4 separate regions of the Homo sapiens genome follow, and regions 2, 3 and 4 are each linked to region 1. Evidence: promoter capture Hi-C in 16 types of primary human blood cells and fetal thymus (Javierre and others, 2016). All regions are on one chromosome and are shown on one strand. Each heading gives the region's core, a stretch centred on a gene start or on the middle of the fragment in contact. The rest is flanking DNA. Distances are from core to core; before and after follow the strand shown. Region 1 holds the start of ATOX1-AS1 (ATOX1 antisense RNA 1). Region 2 overlaps LINC01933 (long intergenic non-protein coding RNA 1933). Region 3 overlaps SLC36A1 (solute carrier family 36 member 1). Region 4 overlaps SLC36A1 (solute carrier family 36 member 1).

What was found. The method cuts DNA at HindIII sites, captures the fragments that hold promoters and counts their contacts. A CHiCAGO score of 5 or more calls a contact.
Region 2: a fragment that was not itself captured here is called in contact with the fragment with the promoter of ATOX1-AS1 in region 1 in 1 of 17 cell types (total CD8 T cells); the score reaches 7.7 in total CD8 T cells.
Region 3: a contact is called between a fragment that was not itself captured here and the fragment with the promoter of ATOX1-AS1 in region 1, in 5 of 17 cell types (M0 macrophages, M2 macrophages, monocytes and 2 more). The highest score is 8.4, in M0 macrophages.
Region 4: a contact is called between a fragment that was not itself captured here and the fragment with the promoter of ATOX1-AS1 in region 1, in 3 of 17 cell types (M1 macrophages, M0 macrophages and monocytes). The highest score is 8.5, in M1 macrophages.

What each region holds. Positions count from the first base shown.
Region 1 is chr5:151,749,423-151,755,358 of GRCh38, reverse strand. ATOX1-AS1 (ATOX1 antisense RNA 1) reads right to left here and starts at 2,279. Exons shown (of 4, transcript XR_007059008.1): 1 at 2,050-2,279; 2 at 1,237-1,686. ATOX1 (antioxidant 1 copper chaperone) reads left to right here. Exons shown (of 4, transcript NM_004045.4): 2 at 3,580-3,655. RefSeq lists an enhancer at 5,440-5,689. The HindIII fragment of the contact is 3,507 bases long and covers 144-3,650 here.
Region 2 is chr5:152,141,674-152,147,609 of GRCh38, reverse strand. All of the region lies in intron 1 of LINC01933 (long intergenic non-protein coding RNA 1933), which reads right to left. Among named protein-coding and RNA genes, the nearest start is that of LINC01933, 190 kb to the right of the region's middle. The HindIII fragment of the contact is 1,089 bases long and covers 2,887-3,975 here.
Region 3 is chr5:151,458,470-151,464,405 of GRCh38, reverse strand. SLC36A1 (solute carrier family 36 member 1) reads right to left here. Exons shown (of 11, transcript NM_078483.4): 2 at 5,471-5,618; 3 at 763-853. The coding sequence starts at 5,613. Among named protein-coding and RNA genes, the nearest start is that of SLC36A1, 14 kb to the right of the region's middle. The HindIII fragment of the contact is 1,885 bases long and covers 2,287-4,171 here.
Region 4 is chr5:151,475,612-151,481,547 of GRCh38, reverse strand. SLC36A1 (solute carrier family 36 member 1) reads right to left here. Exons shown (of 11, transcript NM_078483.4): 9 at 4,792-4,958; 10 at 2,059-2,228. It also overlaps the pseudogene RNA5SP197. Among named protein-coding and RNA genes, the nearest start is that of SLC36A1, 31 kb to the right of the region's middle. The HindIII fragment of the contact is 1,324 bases long and covers 2,877-4,200 here.

The DNA.
Region 1 (5,936 bases), core at 1,030-3,529:
TTCCTCCTGAGTGAAATAAGATAAATAGCTCTCTTTCCAGGCTCAGTGAGGACTAACTTAGATACTGTACAAAGATAATTTGACATGTAATAGACAATCAGTAGATTTAGCTCTTATGTTGATCTTGCAAACCCTTCAAAGCTTTGGCTCAGTATATAAGTACAAACCATAGATGAATTGATTTTCTGCTGGTTATCCTAGAGCAAGACTCAGCAAACTTTTTTTTTTACACGGCACCGATAGTAAACATTTTAGTCTTCACAAACCATAGGGTCTCTGGTACAACTACTCAACTCTGCCATTCTAGTGCAAAAGTAAACAAATGAGTTTGGCTGTAGTTTTTTGTTTTTGTGTTTCTTTTTTTTTTTTTTTTTTTTTGGACGGTGTCTCGCTCTCTTGCCAGGCTGGAGTGCAATGGCATGGTCTTGGCTCACTGCAACCTCCGCCTCCTGGGTCAAGCGATTCTCCTGCCTCAGCCTCTTGAGTAGCTGGGACTACAGGCGCATGCCACCACTACCAGCTAATTTTTGTATTTTTAGTAGAGATGGGGTTTCACCATGTTGGCCAGAATGGTCTCGATCTCTTGACCTCGTGATCCTCCCGCCTCAGCCTCCCAAAAATGCTGGGATTACAGGCATGAGCCACCACACCTGGCCCGATTTGGGCTATGTTTTAACAAAACTCTTTGTAAAACAGGTAGTTTGTAGTGTGCCAATCCATGTTCCAGAGCATCATCATTTTTTTTTCCAAAACAATTTTTTTCTTTTAAATTAAATGGAGCCATGATCTCACTGTATTGCCCAGGCTAGTCTCAAACTCCTGGGTTTAAGTGATTTTCCTGCCTCAGCCTCCTAAGTAGCTGGGATTACAGGCACCTGCCACCATGCCTGGCTAATTTTTTTTCTATTTTTAGTAGAGAAACAGGTTTTGCCATGTTGGCCAGACTGGTCTCAAACTTGTGACCTCAGGTGATCTACCTGCCTCAGCCTCCCAAAGTGTTGAGATTATAGGCATGAGCCACATTGCCCAGCCTAAAAAAACTTTTTAATAGAGGAGAGCATCATCTCAGACTGTAATGTGGGGAGGAATGACTTGGGTGTCTTGTTAAAATGAGGATTCTGATTCCGGACTTCTGGGAAGGGACCTGAGATTCTGCATTTCTGACAGGCTCTCAGGTGATGCTCATATTGTTGGGCTGAGGACCACATTTTAAAGACAAGATTTTGTAATACTTACTACAAATCCTTCTTTCCAGAATCTGTTATTGTTGCTGTCTGTGAATAGTCAGGAAACAAGATGAAAAAATCAGAGATGTTTAGAAGAAAGGAAAGACTGACCATTTTCTTTAAGACAGATTTTGCAGATTTGGCCTTAATAAAAGGAGTGGTTTACTAGTCACAAAGGTCAAACAGTCTGCACTGGAAAATCGAGCTGCTTAATTCTTGGTCTTCGTTTCCTCTGTAGAGCACAGTGACAATCCAGACTCAGCGGTGTTTAGAGACTTGGAAAGAGTTTGAGAAGCCACTTAGCCACTTTATTTTCAGGTTTGTAGTTTTGCCTCCCGTTCTCTCCCCAGTAGGTTAAAAATGGGGAGTGGCAGGGCCCGCTCCACATCCACAGAGTCAGTTGAGGCAGGTGTCTGGGAGCTGCACTTTCCACAAGGTCCCCAGATTCTTCCTATGCACACTAAAGTTGAAAAAAATTGAGTTAGCTAATACCCTTTTGGTATAGATTAGGGAACTGGAGCCCTTCTGGAGCAGAGATTTTGCCTGTGGTTTTCTAGCAAGATATATCACTACACCCAGGATTCCAACTGAGGTAATAGACTTCAAATATTTTGAAGTGCTCCATGAAAAATGTAGCCATTGATTTTTGAAGGGAAACAGGAGAGACAAATGGAAGAAATTAATAATCCAATAGCTAACCTTTTACCCAACGGAACCTAGTACTAGGCTCTAATTTCCTTAATGTGTTAGTTATCTATTGCTCCTTAGTAATTATCCCAAAACTTTGTAGTATAAAACAACAAATATATTTATAGTAACTCACACAGTTTCTGAGAGTCAGGAATTTGGGAACAGCTTGGCCTAGTGGCTCCAGCTCAGAGGCTCTCATAAAGCTGCAGTGAGATGTTGGCTGGAGCTGCATTCATCTGAAGGCTTGACTGGAGCTGGAGAATCCACTTCCAACATGTCTCACTCACATGCTTGTTAGCTCGAGGGTTCAATCTCTCACTTTGTGGACCTCTCCTTGTGGTTGCTGGAATTTCTTTGTAATTTAGTAGCTGACTTCCTCTAGTGCAAGTGACCCCAGAAATGGAGCAAGACAGAAGTCACAGTGTCCTTTATGACATTGTGATAGCTTCAGAAGCCACATAACCTCACTTCAAGCCATATTCTATAAGACACACAGACCAACCCGAGACATGTGGAATGGGATTACTCAAGGGCATAAATACCAGAGGCAGAGATCATTGAGGCCATCTTGGATGCTGGCTAACCGTACTTAAAATCCTGTGTTCATCCCATTCACAAATCTAGAGAGGGACTCTTACCCTCAATTTTCAGATGTGGAAACTAAGGCACAGAGAAGTAACATATTGATGATCATGCAACTAGTAGTGCCAGAGCTGGTATCTGAAGCCATATTTATCTGATTTCAGATGGTCTCATTTCCAGAGATTTTAAAATAAAGTATTGGTATAAGTAATCCTTGTGTGAAAGCAAAGCAAAAGATCCAGAAGTTCAAACCAGCCATGTCAATTATCCATTGACTCAAAAATAAGTTTTAAGCACCTACTCTGTCCAGGCACTGTTCCAAGTATTAGGAATCCAGTAGTGAACTGAACAAAACCTCTGTCTTCTGGGAGCTTACCTTCAGACCCTTGATCTGTTAGATATCCTAGAGACTGTAGAATGTAGAGCTTACATGAAGACTAGGAGCCGGGGATCCCTTCCTGCCTGGCCTCCAACCCACTGGGGAACCCAGGCAATCCTTTCTTTCCCTGGACCCAGATGCTGCCTCTGAGAATGCGGCCCTTGGATGAAAGCAGAATCACCTGGGGTAATGAGTAGACATAACAGATTCCCCAGCCCAGACCTGCTGACCAGAACCTGTAGTTTTTGCAAGCTGTAGGTGACTCTAGTGCAGAAAATAATTTTGTGGTTCATAAGTGGGCCCACCAGATCAGCATTGCTCAGAGTATGGGGGCCCATCCCTGTCAGAGTTACTGGTGGCCCTGAGACAAAGCTCATAGCTCAAGAATCAGTGTTTTGAAGGTAGGACTGGGAAAAAGCATTTTAAACTAGATCTCCAGGTGATTCTATTTACTATGTGCCAGACACTGCTAAAGGATTTATAGGGATGATTCCATTGAATACAACTTGTGAGGTAGAAACTCTTAGCTACTCTATAGTTGAAGAGACGGGCTCAGAAACAGGCTTCTGATGAGTCTGATGCCAACCAGGTCCTGCCCAGTCTCTCTGTCTTCTGTCTTGACCCTGAGTGGGCCTGTCTGCTGGCACTGTGTGGGGGTCACTCTACAGGGCTCGGGTCATGGTCCCCCTGTGTTTGTTTCAGAAGCACGAGTTCTCTGTGGACATGACCTGTGGAGGCTGTGCTGAAGCTGTCTCTCGGGTCCTCAATAAGCTTGGAGGTGAGTGAGTGGCCCTGAGTTGGGTGCACTTATGCCATGTTCAGATGCATGCAGATGTTGCAGGAGAGACTTAGGGTTAAGCTGATCATAACAGTAAAACTAAAATATATTGAGTACTTAGCACGTGCCAACTACTCTTGTTATTTTCTTAGTGGCTTATGTGAATCACATCATTTAATCCTCACCACGGCCATTTCAGATAGTTTTTTTTTTACTAGCTCCATGTTAAACAGGAGACAGCTGAAGTTCAGAAACATTAAATAACTTATCTGGGATCACATGGTCAGTAAATGGCAGAGCTGGGATTTAGCCAAATTAACTAGTACTGCCAGGAGTAGCTCTGGAGCCATGGCAGTACTAGTTCATATGTTGGTCATCTCCAGTGTGTACTGCATGACACATCTGAGTGTCATTTTCTATTGAATTTTTTTTTTTTTTTTTTTTTTTGAGACAGAGTTTCGCTCTTCTTGCTCAGCCTGGAGTGCAATGGTGCAATCTCGGCTTGTTGCAACCTCCGCCTCCCAGGTTCAAGCAATTCTCTTGCCTCAGCCTTCCAAGTAGCTGGGATTACAGGCATGCACCACCACGCCTGGCTCATTTTGTATTTTCAGTACAGACGGGGTTTCTCCATGTTGGTCAGGCTGGTCTCGAACCCCTGACCTCAGGTGATCTGCCCGCCTCGGCCTCCCAAAGTGCTGGGATTACAGGCGCGAGCCACCCTACGCAGCCTCTATTAAGGTTTTTTAAATGGGGCTGGGCACGGTGGCTCACACCTGTGATCCCAGCATTTCGGAAGGCTGAGGCGGGCAGATTGCCTGAGCTCAGGAGTTCCCGAGACCAGCCTGGGCAACATGGTAAAATGCCATCTCTACAAAAAATACCAAAAAAATTAGCCAGGCATGGTGTTACATGCCTGTACTCACAGCTAATTTAGGGGGCTGAGGTGGGAAGATCGCTTGAGCCTGGGAGGTTAAGGCCACAGTGAGCCTAGATCGTGCCACTGCACTGCAGTGGGGGCAACAGAGCAAGACCCTGTCTCCAAAAAAAAAAAAAAAAAAAGAAAGAAAAAAAGGAAAGATTTAAAAAAAGGTAAAAATTTTTAAAATTTTGTCTTTTTCTGTTTCTTTACTTCAAAAAAAAAAATTTAAATTAATTTTGAATCACTCACATGCAGATTTTTTTTTTTTTTTTTTTGAGATGAAGTCTCACTCTGTTTGTTGCCCAGGCTGGAGTGCAGTGGCATGATCTCAGCTCATTGCAGCCTCTGCCTCCTGGGTTCAGGCGATTTCCGGTGAATTTTTGTACTTTTCATAGATATGGATTTCACCATGTTGGCCAGGCTGGTCTTGAACTCTTGACCTCAAGTAATCCGCCTGCTTTGGTCTCCCAAAGTGCTAGGGTTACAGGCATGAGCCACCGCACCTGGCCACATGCAGATATTCTTAAAGCACCTCTTTTGAACAATCAGTCTCATCCAGCCTTGTCATTTTACAGCTGGGGAAACTGAGGCCCAGAGAGGACTGGGATCTGGTCCTGGGACTCAGTGAGGTAATAACTGAGTTGTGATCAGAGTTTTGGCAATGCCAGTGCTCAGTCAGCCTTCTAAGATTTTTTCTTTTCTTTTTCTTCCACATGAACTATCACACAATCTTCTAAAATTTTCTTTTTTAAAACCCTAAATAATAATGACATTAAGTTTTCAAATGGCTTCCACATGGACGTGATCTCATTAGCAGTCCTCTGAGCTGTACTTTCCATCTTTGGAATGGGGATGTCGATGCCAGTGTCCAGGAGGTTAAGTGACTTGCCCGTAGTCCCGCAGCAAGTCAGTGGCTGGCCTCTAGCCCTGTAAACTGGGATCTTAATCTGAAAGAAACTGAAACAGTGGAAAGAACCTAGCTGCTGACTTGTCATGTGACTGTGGGCCCTTCTTTCTCGGGCCTGGGTTTCCCCAGCTGTGGTATGGGAATGTATATCTTGTATGTCTGTATCAGCTTTTGCTGTTGATGCTTTTTTTTTTCTTTTTCTTTTTTTTTTTTTTTGGAGATGGAGTTTGCTCTTTCACCCAGGCTAGAGTGGAGTGAAGTGGCATGATCTCTGCTCACTGCAACCTGCTCCACTCTGCCCCGGGTTCAAGCGATTCTCCTGCCTCAGCCTCCCGAGTAGCTGGGATTATAGGTGCCCGCCACCACGCCTGGCTAATTTTTTTTTTTTTTCTGAGGCAGAATTTCGCTCTTGTTGCCCAGGCTAGAGTGCAATGGCGTGATCTCAGCCCACCGCA
Region 2 (5,936 bases), core at 2,182-4,681, 390 kb before region 1:
TGGGAAAGTTTTCTCTTTCCTGAGAAGAAGACACAGACTATCACTGGTTCTACATGTGACACTTGGAACTAGTTCAACCCTTTCATCACCAGCTTAAAGATGAAGCCAGCACTGAGAACAGAAACAGGAAGCAGAAAGACCCAGAGTCCATGAGGACAGTATCCAGCCACTGCCTGAATGTTGCCTAGAGACTGCCCTGCCTCTGAACTTGGAGTTATGTGATGTAATAAACTGTATTTATATTTGTTTGTGCCAGAGTTTTCTGTTAATTGCAAGCAAAAGCTTCTTTTGTGTGTTTTCTGTTAATTGCAGTCAAAAGCTTTCTTTTCCTTTCAGGCCACACACATGACATAAAACTGACCCTGGAGCTTCTGCCCCACATCATCGAAAGCAACTGCAAGAAGCAGAAATGAGACAGGAGGGGAAAGAGATCTGACAGTGTTGAGGTCCCTCGGTTCTGTGACCCTGCTCTGCGCCTCCCTCTGGACTTGAGAAAGCTTGGGTCTTTCCAACTCCATGTCCCACAACAAATTCCCTGTGAGCCCTCAGCAGGGATGTATCAGTCTATTCTCATGCTGCTAATAAAGACATACCAGAGACTGGGAAATTTATAAAGGAAAGAGGTTTAATTGACTCAGAGTTCAACATGGCTGGAGAGGCCTCAGGAAACTTACAATCATGGCAGAAAGGGAAGCAAACATGTCCTTCTTCACACGGCGGCATCAAAAAAAGTATCAAGTAAAAGGGAAAAGCCCCTTATAAAACCCTCATATCTCGTGAGAACTTACTGTCTCAAGAACAGCATGAGGGTAACCTCCCCCGTGATTAAATTACCTCCCGTGGGGTCCCTCCTATGGCACGTGGGGATTATGGGAACCACAATCCAAGATAAGATTTGGGTGGAGACACAGCCAAACCATATCAGATAGGGTCTGCACAACAGCGGAAGGAGCCCTAGTTAAGTGCTGGGAAAGGAAGTTTTAGTCCTGCTCTTACCACCGACTTGCTGAGCAACTCTGGATCAGTCTCTTCACTGGACCTCTTATACCACCTATAAATGAGGAGTTTGATGGAATATCTTTCACGATTAAGAAACGTGTCCCAGTAATTCCACTCCTGTGAATATATCCTACAAGTAAACTCAAATGAACACTGAAAGATGCAGCACAGAGATGCCCGTTGCAGCATTATGTGTAGTAGCAACCTGTCTACCCAAAAGTTGTGTAAATGAGCTACCACATGCGCCAAATCGGGCTCACAGCCTGTTGAGGTATGACTTGTGAGCTAAAAATGGTCTTTACATCTTCAAAGCATTGTTAAAAAGAGAAATAGGACAAGAAAGAGGAGGAAGAAGAGAAAGGGGAGGAGAAATAGGTGGTACAGAGATCCTATGACCAACAAAGCCTACAATATTAGGTATCTGGTCTTTTGCAGAATACATTCGTTGGTCTGTAAGCTATAGTATAAACTTCCTGTGAAATAAACGGGCCATTGAAAACAGAAAAAAAACCCTCATGCGCTGACATGAAAGGAGATCTACTACATATTGTTAAATAAAAAATGCAAGTATCAGAACAGCATGAGTAGTCTGATTACATTTGTGTCAAAATACAGGATGCAAGTTATTTATAATGTATATGCAAATAAAATATCTGAAAGGACACGCAAGAAACTTAACAGTTATTGCCTCTGGGGAAATTAGACTGAAATGAAGGTAGTGATAGGGAGAAAAATCCTTTTATATTTTACTGTATTTTCTTCTCCACTCAGATTTTTACTATAAGCACGTTATGGCTTTCACCACAAAAATGAGCCAGTTGGACAGTACGATCTCCTGGGACACCTTCAGTTCTGAGTCTCTCTAGAATAATAACTTCTAACACTGAGTTACTATTTTTTCCAATTTGCTACTACTATGATAAACACATTCAACTTTTTGCTTCTTTTAATCTTCATAACCACCTCCTGAGGTTATGAACACTTTCTGCCAGATGAGGAGCCTCAGACCCAGAACTGTGATTTTTACCCGAGGATTCGAGGCTCTGTCTCCACTGCCTCAGTTTCAACAGCAACACCATCTGGCCTACCTGAGTGTCTGAGTGAGTCAGAGCGGGTCAGAGTGAGGTTAGCTAAATAAGCAGAAAAGAGCAAAAGATATAACATATGATTTAAAGAAGGCCAGAAAGGTAATATAGCCAAATAATTCTCTTTCTTGAGTCCATTTTAGACTGCTAATGAACAGAAGGCCAGGGTGAGAGGTAAATTTTTCACTTGGAAGTAAAGGAAAAAGGGTAAGTGCTTTTGATCACCCCTCAAATCATATGTAAATGGAGCCTACTCTGTCCATGGGGGAGGCTGTATGACCATGGGTAAACCGAAGGCCCTCTCTGAACCTCACAGCTCTTATTTCTAAAATGGGGAGGTTAGCCTGGATCAGGCAGGGATCATATACTGTTGGGTTACAAAGTGTTTACAAGGCCAAGCTGATCAAGATAATGGATCAGGGTGGAAACTGTAGGGAACTAGAGAATTCTTGACCTATTTAAAGCAGGGCAGAGTCTTTTTTTTACTTATAGATTGCTGCCAAGGGGGAATGCAGACCAGTGTCATCAAATGATCTGGTTTTCAAGAGAAGCCAGAAATTCAAATTTCTAAATGAAAAAAAAAAAATCAAATTTTAAAATTGTGTCATCTCATCCTAACATTGAAAAAAAAAAAAAAAAGAGCACTCTAGTGCCAAAACAAATGCATCCACGCATAGCCTACAGGCCTGCCAATCTGCCTCTAACAGAAAAGGTCATCAGGGACACTTGGAGCTCCAAGTCATTGAGTCCCTGATGCGGGTTGTAAGGGCTGCATTCCCCAAAGGGCAAATTCCATTAAGCTTCCATTTGAAACATCTATCACAACCCTACCTGTTTCCTTTCTCCCAGTTACATCTCCTGCTCACCCCAGCAAATAACAATTGGCAAAATCCAGAAAGTGAAAGTGCCAAGCAAGAGGAGGAATAAAGCATTGACTTCAGCCATCTGTAGCCAGCAACAGGAGATGAAGTACACCCTGAGGAAGTCAAGGCATCCTTTGCTCACATGACTGACTGTCTCTTTCCTGGGGACAATCCCTACAGAAATGGCAGAAAAGTCTCTCTCTCTTTCCCCTCCTGCATTCAAGCAGCCACTTGCCTCCTTTCTTTCCCCTCTGCCAGTATCCTCAGCTTTTTTTCGCCCACACCAGCGATTTCCATGCACGGGAACAACACTCCATCTAGAAGTGACAAGCCCCCACCACCAGCAGACTGTGACGGCCCAGCTTGTTCTTCATTCTGACGTGGCTGCAAGCAACACTAGGCTCCTTGGCGACAACCTCAAGGTGATTGGAATACTGAAAGCCCCAAGATGGGTGTGTTCATGTGCACGTGCACACGTGATAAGAACAGCAATCATTCGAGCTCTTGACAGCCCTCACACTGTAGGAGCAGGAGAAGCAATCCATACAAGGGAAATGGGAAAATAAAAACTGCCATATTCAAGCATCAGCCATGACCCCCTATTGCATGCAGAATAAAGCCAAATTCCTGCATTCAAGGCCACCTACCTCCCAGTAGCTTTTCCAGTCTCATCTTGAACCACACTGTCTCTAGAAAGCTATACATCAGTTACTTAAATATTTTCCCTAAACTCTCCCACCTCCCAGTTTGCTCACTCTAGCTAGAAGGTGCTTCCATTTGGAAAGAGGTAGATTTTTATGTTTAATGAAAAAAAAAAACTTAGGAAATTTTGTTCTAGCAGTTCCATTACAGAACCACCAAAAATAATTTCCAACTAATACCACTAGGCAATCATGGAACTAATGGTAAATATTATTTATTGAGCACCTACTATGTGCCAGATACTATACTGAATGCTTTATCTGCCTTACGTTATTTCACTCTCACAACCACTCTATTAGATGAGAACACAGAGGCACATAAAAGCTTAAAGGATACCCTATCCAATATCACACAGCCAACGCATGGCAAAGCCAGGAGTCAAGCCCAGGACCTCTGTCTCCAGAGCTTTCAGCCTCACCACTGGGATATATTGTCTTTCTATGGGAAGATGCGTATCGAGGAAAGGGAAATGAAACAGGATGGGGTAGTCTGAGTTTTAGTCCCTGCTGGGTCTTTGTCACTTTGGACAGGTCATTTCACCACTCTAAGCCTCTGTTTGGCCCTTCTCTAAAATCAGAGTCTAAATATAAGACCCAAAGGATGCGGTTTGTGATGCCATATACAAGTAATTTCATCCAGATTTATTACAAAAGAGATAAGGGGAAAAAGAATAGCACAACTGAGCTTAAGGGAATAGAATGTTTGGGGAACATAACCAAAATGGGGTGGCAAACAGAGATGTGGATAAGTTAAGCCACGGAATGATCTAAAAGTACACTTCTCTGAGACAGCCTTTGGAGAGGCCTGTTGTGACTGAAGGGACCCTGGGTACTCTACTCAGAAGGTTTAACTCCAGGCTGAAGCTCTCAGCCCCTGGGTGAGGGTCCAGATAAGCATCACTGCAGATTCTCCAGTGTCCAGCAGAGGGCACCCACGTCCACCTACTCAGCTGCTCAGAGAGACTTGGCAATCTGGCTTCAGACATCCCCTTACAAGTTACTTGTCTATCCTGCCTTGTTTCCCCTGATCCATTTACCAATGGGACTGGAATAAACCAAGGTATGGGAATAGGCCATTTAGAAGCTAAATTTGCTCCTATATGCCTCTGAATTTCCAAGAAACATGTTTAAAAGATGACGAGGCTGTGCAGCGGTCCCGTTCCTCCCCTGCCATTCTTCTTTGTTCCTCGGCCTCTCCAAGCAGAGTCCAGGAGATAAGAGAATCTGCCTGGCTGGCACTCTTGCTGCAGCTTCTCTGGTTACTCTCGGGGGATTCCTGATTTTGTTGAGAAGGGTTTCTCTTTATCAAATCACAGGCCTCCTCCGAAATGGCCCAAGAGACCATCACCGCCTGCCGGGTGCTGAAATATGTTATCATTAGGCTCAACATGCTATTTAGTTAATTAAATGTCATGCTTTTGATGGCATTAATTAGACCCGCTGCCGATTCCTCAGAAAACAAAACCAAACAAACATAAAAAAATCACTCCTAACCCAGGGAGACTCAATGGAGCCAAAGTGAGATCTTCCTAAATCCCTCTCTCCTCCCAGGACAAAATTAGTCCACATGGATCTTTGAACAGCTCAATGAGCTTCATGATGTCATTTTTCCTTTGAGGGATGATGTTATTAATGTTCCTGGTATTTTAGAGCAGTTAATGTTTTTATTAATAATGACATAATTGTCCTTTATAGGAATGTAATATTTTAGAGGTTGCTATGGACTGAATTGTGTCCCCCTCCAAAAAATTTATATTCATAAGAGTCATGTATAAACAGGTAGCCACATATCCAGAGATCTAAGAATTACAATGATGACAAAGGGTCAAGGTGGACAAATAGTCAGATGTGTCCAGGCACTACCAGGAAAACAGCAACATAAGGCAGGCCCAAGATTGACGGCATAAGTCATCAAGTTCCAAGATACAGACATAGGCAGCAGGATCTAGTAGAAAGGCTATTGAATGAGTGACCAAAGGCCTGTCTCTTATTACTGGTGATCTTCAGCAAATCATTTAGTATCTCTGGACTTGGTTTCCTCAGCTTCAATTGAAAAGAATGGACAAGACAATCCCTAAAAGTTCAACCTCCAAATCCTGATACCAGGGGTCAAAAGTAAGGCAGAGGCAAACTTCTAAGAGTCTGGGCTACTAAGAATTTTGCAAAGCAGAACCAGTGTCCAGATGTGGAGAGCCACAGTAGACAGGCTTATGATAGTTTAATGGGGGACACTTTTGAGAGTTAAGCAGGAGCAAGTCATACTTCATCAGTGATAATATGTATAAATG
Region 3 (5,936 bases), core at 1,980-4,479, 290 kb after region 1:
TTCAGTGACAAAACTTTGGGCCCAGCATTAGAGAGAGAAACGTGATCATGGAGATTAGCTCTGTGAGATGGGTGTTATCTGAACTTTAGCACATTTTCGAGAGATTTAGTCACGTGGAGAAGAAGGACATAAGATAAGTCTGTTCCAAGACTGGTGCACATCAGCAGAATAGAAGGCTCCTGTGACTGTGGGAAGAGCTGGGCTAAGGGATGTGAGGTGAGACGGGTAAGTTATCTTTACAGCAATGCCAGATCAAGAAAGACTGCACTTAGCTAAGGGCAACCCACATCTCTGAGTCTCTCTTCAACTCCGAAAGAAACCAGAATGGCTTTGGGCAGGCAGTCAACTGGAGGTAAATCACAAAAAGAAGACATAAGATTCTTGCAGTTGGCCATTTAGGAACAGGGCATGGGAGACTGTAGAAAATGGGCAGACATCTGTAACTAACTCATTAGTTCATATTATTGACAGAAACTGCTCGAGCCATCTCAGTACATCCTCTCCACCATGAAGTAAGCTCCATGAGGGCAGGAATATTTAATTCACTGATGTATTCTAAGAGCTTAGAACAGTGCCTAACGCACAGAACACTCTCAATAAATATCTTTAAGTGAATGAATGTCTGAATTCCGCTTTTTGTCAACTGATTTTTTTAAAATGCTTCTCTATTTAAAATGTTTTAAAGCAAGTACATTTTAACAACAACAAAAAGCTACCTCCTAAAATTTGTCACCACTCCTCTCCACTGATGCAGACCCTTACCACGATGCCTGCATTTTTCACCGCCAGAGGGAGTCCCAGGAGTCCTGTGCCAATGTTGCCTTTTAACAGGTGGATCAAGGTCTGGAACCATCTGAAGTGGAAGACAGCCAAGGAAATGATAACCATGACAGTTAACTTTTATTAGGATCTCAGTGCTTATATGCATTATCTTATTTTATTTCCACAACAACCCTGTAAGATTTTATCTTATAGATGATGAAGCAGTTTGCTCAAGGTCACATACCTAGTAAAGGGCTGGGGCAGGATTCAAATTTGGGCAGTCTGACTCCAGAGCTCCCCCTCTTATCCACTGTGCTGTAAGTCTCCACTCTCTGACATTTCTGAGAATCCCTTCTCTCAGAGATTAGACCAGAGGGGTGCTCCAACTCTCTTCAGACACTCTATCCTTTCCAAGTGTATTTGGGTCTGGTTCTAACCACTGAACTGACCACTGTAAAGGCTCAGACCTGGCCAGGCACAGTGGCTCATGCCTATAATCCCACTACTTTGGGAGGCCGAAGCGGTGGATCACCTGAGGTCAGGAGTTCGAGACCAGCCTGGCCAACAAGGCGAAACCCCGTCTCTACTAAAAATACAGAAATTAGCCAGGCATAGCGGCATGTGCCTGTAATCCCAGCTTCTCAGGAGGTTAAGGTAGGAGAATTGCTTGAACCCGGGAGGCAGAGGTTGCAGTGAGTTAAGATCGTGCCACTGTACTCCAGCCTAGGCAATAGAGGGAGACTCCATCTCAAAAAAAAAAAAAGACTCAGATCCCAAAACTGCAACAGAGGATGACAAACCAAACAATGACGGACAAACACTGGTAAGAGAACAGAGGAAATTAAAAAATAATAATAATAATAACAGAAGCCCCAAACCCTGTAACAGAAAGATACAAAGTGAACAGCATAAAAGTCACACCACACCATAAGAGGCCAGAAGTCCCTGATACATTTAGTATTTAAAAAAAAAAAAAAGTCAGGCCAGGTGCAGTGGCTCATGCCTGTAATCCCAGCACTTTGGGAGGCCAAGGCGGGCAGATCATGAGGTCAAGAGATTGAGACTATCCTGGCCAACATGGTGAAACCCCGTCTCTACTAAAAATATAAAAATTAGCTGGGCGTGGTGGCAGGCACCTGTAATCCCAGCTACTCGGGAGGCTGAGGCAGAAGAATCGCTTGAATCCGGGAGGCAGAGGTTGCAGTGAGCCAAGATTGTGCCACTGCACTCCAGCCTGGGTGACAGAGCAAGACTGTCTCAAAAAAAAAAGAAAAAAAAAATCCATTGGTGATCTTGCTCTTTCAATGGATCTTTTACCCATGCAGAATTCCTAACATCATACTTTGGTTGAGTTTACACAGATCTTCCAAATGTTAACATCTTCATTGTATATTAATAATATCAAAAAGTCATATTTGTTAATATCACCACTAATCTCATCAGAAAAGTCTTCAAGTAGAGGGGCTATCAAGCTCATGGTACTGGATACAAGTTGGTTTTTTTTCCTAATTTTGCTTGAAAGCTTGAATTTTATTCTGGGCAACAGATATGTATTATCTATTGTTTTCCTTGAGGTGATGGGCTGATTTCTTTCATTTTCAAGAAAATGTCTTACAAGTACTCAGGTCTGAATGACCTACAGTTTGTTAGTTGTTCTTTCTAGTTCTATGAAAAAAAAAAAAGGCAGCAAGTTTGGTTGACAACTCATATAATCACTCGAGGTCTTTGCCTTAAGACAAGTAACATATTTTGGTACTCATAGAAGTACTTCATGCATACTTCCCATTTTGCCACACAGAATATTAAAGACCTATACTGAAGGGTCTCAAATTTTTAAATATTAGTAATCCTACAGTTTCATCAAAGACATTATTAAGTGCAAAGGGCTTTTTTCTTTGCGCATGTGTGGCAGTGAAAAATACAACGACAACTAGTATAATTTGGTGCCACTGCCTTGATTCGTTCTACAGTGTAATTTTACCCACCATTGCTTCTACATTATAAGTGCAAATATCCACAAGTGAAAAAGCAGATAACATCTTAGTATTATTATGAAGAGAGTTTTAGCCTCATAGACTTCTTGAAATGGTCTTGGGAAGCCCACAAAGTGTGCAGACCACATTTTGCAAATGACTACTCCAGCTCACCTTTAGAGAGCCAGTTTCAGTCTGCTGGTTTCAGTTTGCATGGGGAAGAAGCACGGAGGCTTGATATATATAATGGAACTCAGAGGGGCAACAAGAAGAAAAATCTGCCCAACAGCATAAAATGAGGCTGTCTTCGAAGCAGTCAATAGCTTGGTAACATCAAGTGTTAGTAAATAACCTCACTGAACACACTAAGAAATAATTCACAGGTCAGGCATGGTGCTCATGCCTATAATCCAAGCACTTTGGGAGGCCGAGGCAGGCGGATCACTTGAGCCCAGGTGTTTAAGACTAAGTGGGCAACATAGCAAAACCCTATCTCTACAAAAAAAAAAAAAAAAATACAAAAAGTAGCCAGGAGCATGCCTGTAGTCTCAGCTACTTAGGAAACTAAGGTGGGAGGATCACTTGAGCCCAGGAGATGGAGGTTGCAGTGAGCCATGATTGTGCCAGTGCACTCCAGCCTGGACAACAGAGCAAGACCCTGTCTCAAAAAAATAAAAGGAAGTAACCCATGAAACTCATGGAAGTGTTTGGGGTTCCTATTTGCACCCCCTAACTAGGGGTTTTTGCTGAGCCCTTGACTTCTAGAAGAGCCAGGTGTGTGCATGCATATGTGCAGTAGGTGTAGAAGTACTTCCATGTATTTTGTTCCTTGGCAAACTAGATAAAAGGGTGGGGCAAACCAGAAATATAAAAGGAACCCAGCTCAAAAACTTGTCTCTAACACTTCCGACATATTAAAATATTAATTTAGGTTAAGAAGGTCCTCCAAATCAACCTCTACCTTAATCATACCTGGCATGTTTTCTATATAAATCCTTGCGTGGATCCTATGCCCCAGGCTGGAAGTACTCAACCAGTCCTCTAAGCCCCAGCAAATTACTTTATCTTGTACCACCTGTGATGGGACTGTAATACCTGCCATCAACTACAGATAGGCTTCCCTGGTCACCTACACTGTATCACAACATCAAGGCAGGAAGGGAAACTCGGAACAAAGTATACCCTGGAAAATGTCACAATACAAGCCTGAGGAAGGTATCTTCTGATTTGTTCGATTTCCAAGAAACAAGGACATAATTTTGTCCAAAACCTATGAGCTACTATCCTAAAGTTGCTAGTTGGTAGGTTTTGAGCTTCAGAGATGTCTCTATAAACATAAAAATCCAGACCTCATCTGCTAAATATTGCTTAGACAAGTTGATATCTGAGATCAAAAAGGAGCAAAAACTGCAAAGGAAACTACAGAGAAGGAAGCTTAGAAGTATCTTACGATAACAAGCATGACCTCTGAAGGGAAGCCATCACATGCCATTGGCTGTGTGTGGAGATGCTTCTGCATGGGGGCTGCCAATGCTGATAAGGTTGGAGGAAAGAGGGGCAGGGTGATCCACACTGCTGCCAGCTGTGCTCTAAGCAATCTACCACCAGCTAACTCCCACTGCAGGCTAATGGGGAATCTACAAAAGCATACCCCTGAGAAATAAGCTACAGAAACAGAATCTTAGAGGACTGGTTGAGTACTTCCAGCCTGAGGCATAGAAATCAGCTAGTGGTGGTGACGGGCCAGGAATGTGGACAGACATTCTTCTAGTTCCACCCCAGTTCGCAAGAGAAAATGCCCTGTACCAGCAGACAGTGCAGGCAGAGGGAGCTTCTCCAGTGATGAGCCCAGAAGCTTCCATGGTCCGCTTGGGCAGTCATCAGGAATGGCATAAGTCTAGGACATGAAGGATCTCTCAGTAAGTCACACTCAGTCCACAAGAAAACACAGAAAAGGTAATAGCTAAGCTTGAGGAATAAACAGGACTGCAAAAGCTGAGATGCTGGGACACAGAGAAAAGTCAGAGGTCTGCTGAAATCAGGAGTAGCTGGGAAACTAACTCAATGGAGTAGCAAAACTTCCTCTGAATTTTCTAATTCAAGTGGTGAGCCCCACACAGCCAGCATAGCTTTGTGGTGGAGTCCTCAATTTTTCTTTACATTTGGGGAAAGTGAGACCTGAAGCGGGCCAAACTCAGCCCAAATGAGTCTGGGGTCCCAGTTTCTGGAGACAAGAGATTAAGCCCTCTTTGGAGAATGCAAAGTCTATCTTTCCTTTCCTACCAACCCTGAATTTTTTAAGTGCAGAAGTTAATTCTTCTCTCTTCCCACTTCTTCAGTCAAATGAATACTGATTTGGTGATGGGGCAGAATTCGGGGGGAGACTTTGCAAAGGAAGCTTCCGATTATGCTTGGAAATTATTTGGGGTTCTAGCACAGATGACACACTTTTAAATTAAAAGAATGTCCTCTGTAGAAGCTTTTTTTAAGTCCAAGCTCTCACTTGGCACCAGCCTTGGGGGGCCAACACAGCTGAAAGGAAAAAAGAGTAAGAAACTGCCTAGAGAGTGGCAGCCCAGGAAGGCAAATCTCAGCGCAGTCACTCGCCCAATCTCTTCACTGCTGACCTTCATCTGTAAAGTGGAGGACTGATGAAATTGGGGGGAAAAATAAGTCCAAGGGAGGCTTAGGAACACGAATCCCACCCAGGAGAGGAGAAGGTAACAGCTACTCACGTTGTGCTATTGCTTTGACCAAAGCGCTGGTAGGAGCCCGGGGAGGAGAGGTTGTTGAGGCCTTCCGACGGGCTCTCCTCAGGGCTCACGTCCGTGGAGCTGTAGTCGTGGTAGTCTTCATTCCGAAGTCTCTGCGTGGACATGGCAGCTGGGGGGACAGGGCCAGCATTAAGACCTCCTGCAGCTGGAGCCTTTAGCTCCATATTTGGGGTGGCCTCTGGGGTAGAAGCTGTCATTGTCAGAGTTGCTCACTGTGACAGCTCCACTATGGATTAAGTATGAAAGTGCCTGGTACCAAGGGAAATGGAAAAGTGCAAAGTACACAGAGGCGGGCTGAGTTCACTTGACTTCTGACTCCCATCCTTCCCATTGGTATACGTGGTGCTACACTCATAAATTTCTTAATTTTCCGGAGTACAGCTAGACAAGGCAGAAGTGAGGCACTGCTTGGGAGGAGTGGGGGAAA
Region 4 (5,936 bases), core at 2,289-4,788, 280 kb after region 1:
AAAAGAAGCTGCTGTTAAAATTTATGAATATAAATGAAAAAAATCAATTAAAGATCTAAAATCACATACTAACCAACGGTGCTGAAAGATCTGAAAGAACAGAGAAGCAAGAACAAAATGAACGCGCATAAATACATTTAAGTTGCTGCTGCCATGAAAGGCCTCTACTGAGTCCCACAATTACTTCAAAGTCTCCAAGGAAGGTGAGAGAGGCGAGTGCTCTCAGACATAAAGGGGGCTGCCTTTTTGAACAGGATGACAATGCAATGCTAAGTCACAACAGATCACAGAAGGGAAAAACAACTGCACACACTTGAAGACCAAAAGCAGCCGTGTCTTCTGAGCATCGTCCTGTTGAAGGGAGATGAGACTCACAGACAGGGCCAGGAAAAGTGAAGCAAAATCCAAGAGGCATCTAAGGATAACATGAGGTCTGTGAATCAGAGACTGCTGTCTCCTGCAGGGTGCTGCAGAAATAAACCTGGCAGGAAGTGTGACATATGCTACAGGGAGGCTGAGCCAGGCTGGAGGGGAAAATTGGGCAGGGAGAGGAGTCAGGCTCCTGTCACTGCCCCAGCTCAATAGGCAGGGTGGAGGAGCTGTTTAGTCAGGAAGGCACATTTTACCTACAGAGACCTACTTTTTCCGGAGGGAGCACTTTGGATAAAAGCAAATTATTTGAACTAACCACACTCTTTCTTCCAGTGCCCTTTAGATTTAAGAATTGGGCCCTCAGAGTTTACATTATAAATACCATACACGTGAAAGCTGTCTCCTCAAGCACTTAGAGCTACTCCATCCACGGTGGAAACATACACTTTGGAATCAAAGCATGGAGAGTTACTGGCACAAGATAGGATTAAAATTTACAGTCCAAGCATCCCATCTTAGCAGCACACATTAAGGCAATCTATTAGAAAAGCAGGATACATCATGTTCCTTCTTTTTCAGTCGCTGTGGGAACAGCAGCTGGCTTTCAACAGCCCTGGCCCCTGGATTAGCTGCTGCGTGGGCTGTTTCTATATAGGCTGGTCTAGGAGAGGGCCTGAAGGAGTGACTAAGAGCAAATGCTAGACAACTTTCCCATCTTTCATCCTTAAAACATTCAACCCTAATTAGAATTTAAAAAGTCATATGGATCTATCTTTATCCCAAAGACAGAGGCTCAGACTGAATAATTTAAGAAAATTCTCAGGGAAGTCTCAACATAATAAGCAAAGAGGTTCTTGTTCAAAAATAATAAAACCTAAAAAGAGAAAAAAAAGCCAAATAGAGCCAAAAAGAGGAATCTATGCTTTTAAGCATTTGAATTTGGAAAACAATTGCAAATCTCTTAGAAACTTAAATTAGCTATTATCAACCGATTTGCTCAGGGGTTCTCTAGTCTACCAACTCACAGAAGCTACAAAAAAAATTTACTTTTATTTTCTAAATGTCACCAGTTTTCAACCACAGCAAACAGAAGGGTATCCTGTCTTTTAACTTACACTCCTGGGAATGGGGTTGAGAGAAGAAGAATAAAACACAAGTGATCAATCAAATACCTAGGTTAATCAATAGAAATTTTCTGAAACATATTTAGTAAGACTGACATTAAAAAATGTCTAGAATACTATCATAAAGCCTCTAAAGGAAATCTAAGGAGCAACTTGTCACAGTGGAAAAACAACTATTTGAAAAAGCAAATAAGTACCCTTCATCAGAGTAACTTATACTCATTACAGATATGGGTTAAATGGCTTTCAGACCTTTACCTTATTTAATATGGGATAGTAATCGCATGTCTTTACTCTGAATGATAACCACCTCCACAGCATTTCATACCCTATCTATACATAAACCACTGTCCTCATTCCCATGTTCTTTACAGTACATATGTAATTAATTCACTTCCCCATCTGGAGGTGCCTCAACTCTGAAAGTGAGGCCATGGGCCAGGTTCTCTGTCACAAACATAGCCAGCTTCACTACAACACACATTGTCTTTTCTCATGAAAGCCTGCAGACTGGGTGCCCTTTAGGGAAAAACAAGCAAGGCAATTATCATCTTCTACTCACATGTCAGGCAGACCAGCACTGTGCGCACAAACAGGTCCACCACTAACTCACAGTGCTCGGGCGCTCGGGACACAAAGAAGGGGATGATGATCTCAGCCGGGACGTAGAACTGGAGTGCGTAGGTGAAAAAGATCCCGATGGAGTACAGCAGCTTAACTGACTGGTACAACCTGCCGAAACAGACAGGAGACATTCCAAGCCTGCTCAGCACACTTATACATCATCAGCAAGAGTGCAAAATGGTCCCATTGCGATTTGTTGACACTTATCAAGGATACAAACCCACATGTCCTTCGGACCCAGCAATTTCATGTCTAGAAATTTACCTCACAGATATCCTCACACACATACACAAAAGCTTATATTCAAAATATCTCACTGCAGCATTATTTAAGAAGGAAAGACTGAAAACAATTTAAATGTTAACCAGTGGGAACTCGATAGGTAAATCGTGGTGCCCCCGTATAGCTTTTAACAAAGTATGAGGCAGAACTCTAGGTGTGATGGTGTGATATGAAACTATCCCCATGATATATCACTCTATCACATGATATAGCATATCACTATCATGGGGACAGTTTTATATCACTTTTTTTAAGTGAAAAAAGCATGAAGCAATACAGTACCTACAGAGTGCTACAATTTGTCTTAAAAAAGAAAAAAGAGGAGGAAAAAACACACACTCACCCCACATGACAATCATACACTAAACATCTCAAAACAAACAAACAAACAAAAAAGAAACTGGGAATATGGTTGCCTCTGAAATGGGAAATTGTAAAATTGGGAACTAGAGTGGAGGGCGCGGGGTGGAAGCTTAATGCTCTCTATATACCTTTTGAAAATCTCAATCTTTGCCATGGGCATACAGGTGTACATGCCTTCAAAAATAAAAACAAAATTGCAATTAAAATGTCACAAGCCTATTTATATCTGTCCCATCCAAGTCAGTGTCCCTAGAATTAGATGAAGACACTGCAGGACCAAGAGGCCAGAGCAGAATTCCATCTTTCCATACCACTATGGCTCTCTTCCTACTACTGCTTCAAGTGTAGCTTCCAAAAATGACGTAACTCACCACAGGATATCCCTATTTTATTACTCCAGTGCCTTGACTGCACAGAGTAGGAAAACAGTCTGTGATCAACTTACAGATCTGACCTGGTCATTAAAAGGAAAGGTCTCTGTCCCTAAGCAAAGCTCCACCTTAAACCAGACCCTCATGTGTTAAACAGCAAGAAACATTTGTCCTCCCTTGTCGGAAATCTATTTAAATGTGCTAATACAGACTGTGTATATGTGCCTTGAGTTTCTCTGTGGTTGAATTTAAAATCTAGAAGATGTTCTTATGCTATAAGCAGGAGAACAACCTTGTAAAGACTGAGTCTGGTAAAAGGTCATACTTGCTCCATGAATAGATAATAAAAACTCTTGGGAAAAATCATCTGGTGGCTCTATCATTAAACTCAAAGCAGCCCCAAAGCCTCTGGAGAGCTGTGAAGTCTGGACTTAGGAGAGTGACACCTGCAGGGATAGCCAAATAAATTATACCCAAATGGAGGCAGAAGAGTTACAGCAGCTGGGTTTGGGGTGTTAGGAAAGAAGACAGATTCTCCTCTATGGCTTCGGATCATGTGGGCTGCTTCTGTTGCTCCCGATCCATTTATCTTCCAGGGAAAGGTGACACAGTTACACCAAGCTACCACCTGCCTCTTCCTTCTTGGAAGGGCAGAAACATTTGGAAATTTAAAAGTAGACACAAGATGGATATGCCAATTACCCTGATTTGATAATTACACATTGTACATATGTATCCAAATGTCACACATACTGCATCCATATATATAATTGGTATGCCTCACGAGTTAAAATCAACTGAAAAAGAATATAAAAAAATAAAAAGCGAATCCAGGTCTATAGCCATACCATTCTGAATGTGCTCAATTTCACCTGATCTTGGAAGCTAAGCAGGGTCAAGCCTGGTTCGTACTTGAACGGGAAAGCCCCTGGAAATACTGAGTGCTGTTGTCTTAAAAAATACAATAAAATAAAACAATACAAAACAAAATAAAAAGCACACCCAGGCAGATCAGCCAGCCTAGACTGAAAGCTGATTCTGATCCGCAGAGCACTCAACAAGCTTCTCAGTGTCTGCTAACAGCTGCTCTCCACCATGAGATGATTCATCTTCAAAACAGGATGGTTGCTCTGCACATGCCCTGGGACATTCACCCTTTCAGGAAGCATTTCAAAATGGCTCACTATTTCCCTATAATACATTCACCAATGCAAGGGAGGTACAAAAGGACTCCCAACAATCCCCGGCTCACAGTGAGATGCTCCCATCTGCATATCAAGCCTGTTACTACCAAGGGAGAGGCACAACCGATGCTGGGAATCAAATGCAGGTTTGCCCTCCCATCTCCCTGTCTATTTGGAATGGTTTACCATGAATGGACTAGATACTCGGTCCTTCTGAGCTTAGGAATTCCAAGGAGAAATGGCTTACCCATCGGCTGATCAGCACCAATGGCTTCAGCAGAAGGCTCTACATGAATTCCCCAAACAGAATGCAGTCCAGGGCAGCCAGTGAGGGCTGGCAGTGGCAGGGGATGGTGGGCTAGAGTGAAGTGGGCTGGTTTAAGAGATAAGTAAGAGGGAGAATCCACACTGTGACCCATTAGTTTTTAAAAATATCCAGTGCTCCTAGGTTTCCATCCTCCCTCCACGTACCAGCAGTTGGGCAGGTTGAGGGTTATGCTGCCTTGGATATTAGCTCCAAATTGCAGGTACCCCAGACACCCCAGGCTGATGTAGAGGATGGTGACGATGACCATGCCCAGGTACAGGATGAGTGGGAACTTCCGAGGATCCTTCATTTTGTTTTCCAGGGGCAGAACCTATGAGAGAGTAGTGAGAGAGGAGAGAAAGTGCAGAAAAAAGAAAAGTTAATGGCCAAGAAAAAAAAAAACCTCAGAAAAAAAGTAACTCTTTTATCCCCAGAATTCTCCAGAAGCACATCTGCTCTTTAAATAAAGTTATTTCATCAGACGTTATGCTCTTGGGACTAGAAGGGACTCTGCAGCCCACTGCCTAGCTAGGAAGTCCTAAAAGTAAGGGTGGACAGGACACGAGCCCAGGACTCCTGGCTCAGGCCAGTGCTCTGTCCTCCTGCTGCAGGATCCCTGCAGGCTGGGAATGTCCCTTGCCCTGTGAGTGAGGCCACATGGCAACCAGAAGGCCCTCTCATGTCATGCCCACCTGGCATCTAACCTGAGATCACAGCTTCCTGCTAACCTGTCTAAAGAATGCAAAATATAGGTCAGGGAAAACTGCCACTCTAGCTCAACAGGGGCAAGCACTAGCAGTGACAAGTTAAACCTCCAAGTGAGAGAAACTGCAGTGCGAAAGAAAGCATGACTTCGTAGAGGATCTCAAGACATGGGTGCTTAACAATGCCCAGTTTCCAGACTCCTATTACAAACCACTGACCTTTGCTACCTCCTTCATCATAAGAGAGGACATTCTTTAACTTTGGTAAAAGCAAAGGAAAGGCCCCTATGAAAATGAGTTTATTTAGGAATTGGGAAAATGGCAGGTGTGACTGTGAGGATCTTCACAGTCTGCCATCAACTGGATCTGGCACAGCTAATAAGGAAGAGCAACACTGGGCAATGTCTAGCTGTGCCACAAACTTTGATCTTGTTATTACACTTATTTTCCTGCAGCACCTGCAGCCATGAGGCACAATAGGTCTGTGCTGCACACACCAACATGATCCTGCTGCAGGCCTGGTGCTCCCAGGGGCCCCCAGTGTCCCCCACCACCTGCTCCAGCTTCAGTTAATCCACATCCATTAGAAACAGCTTCTAAATGTA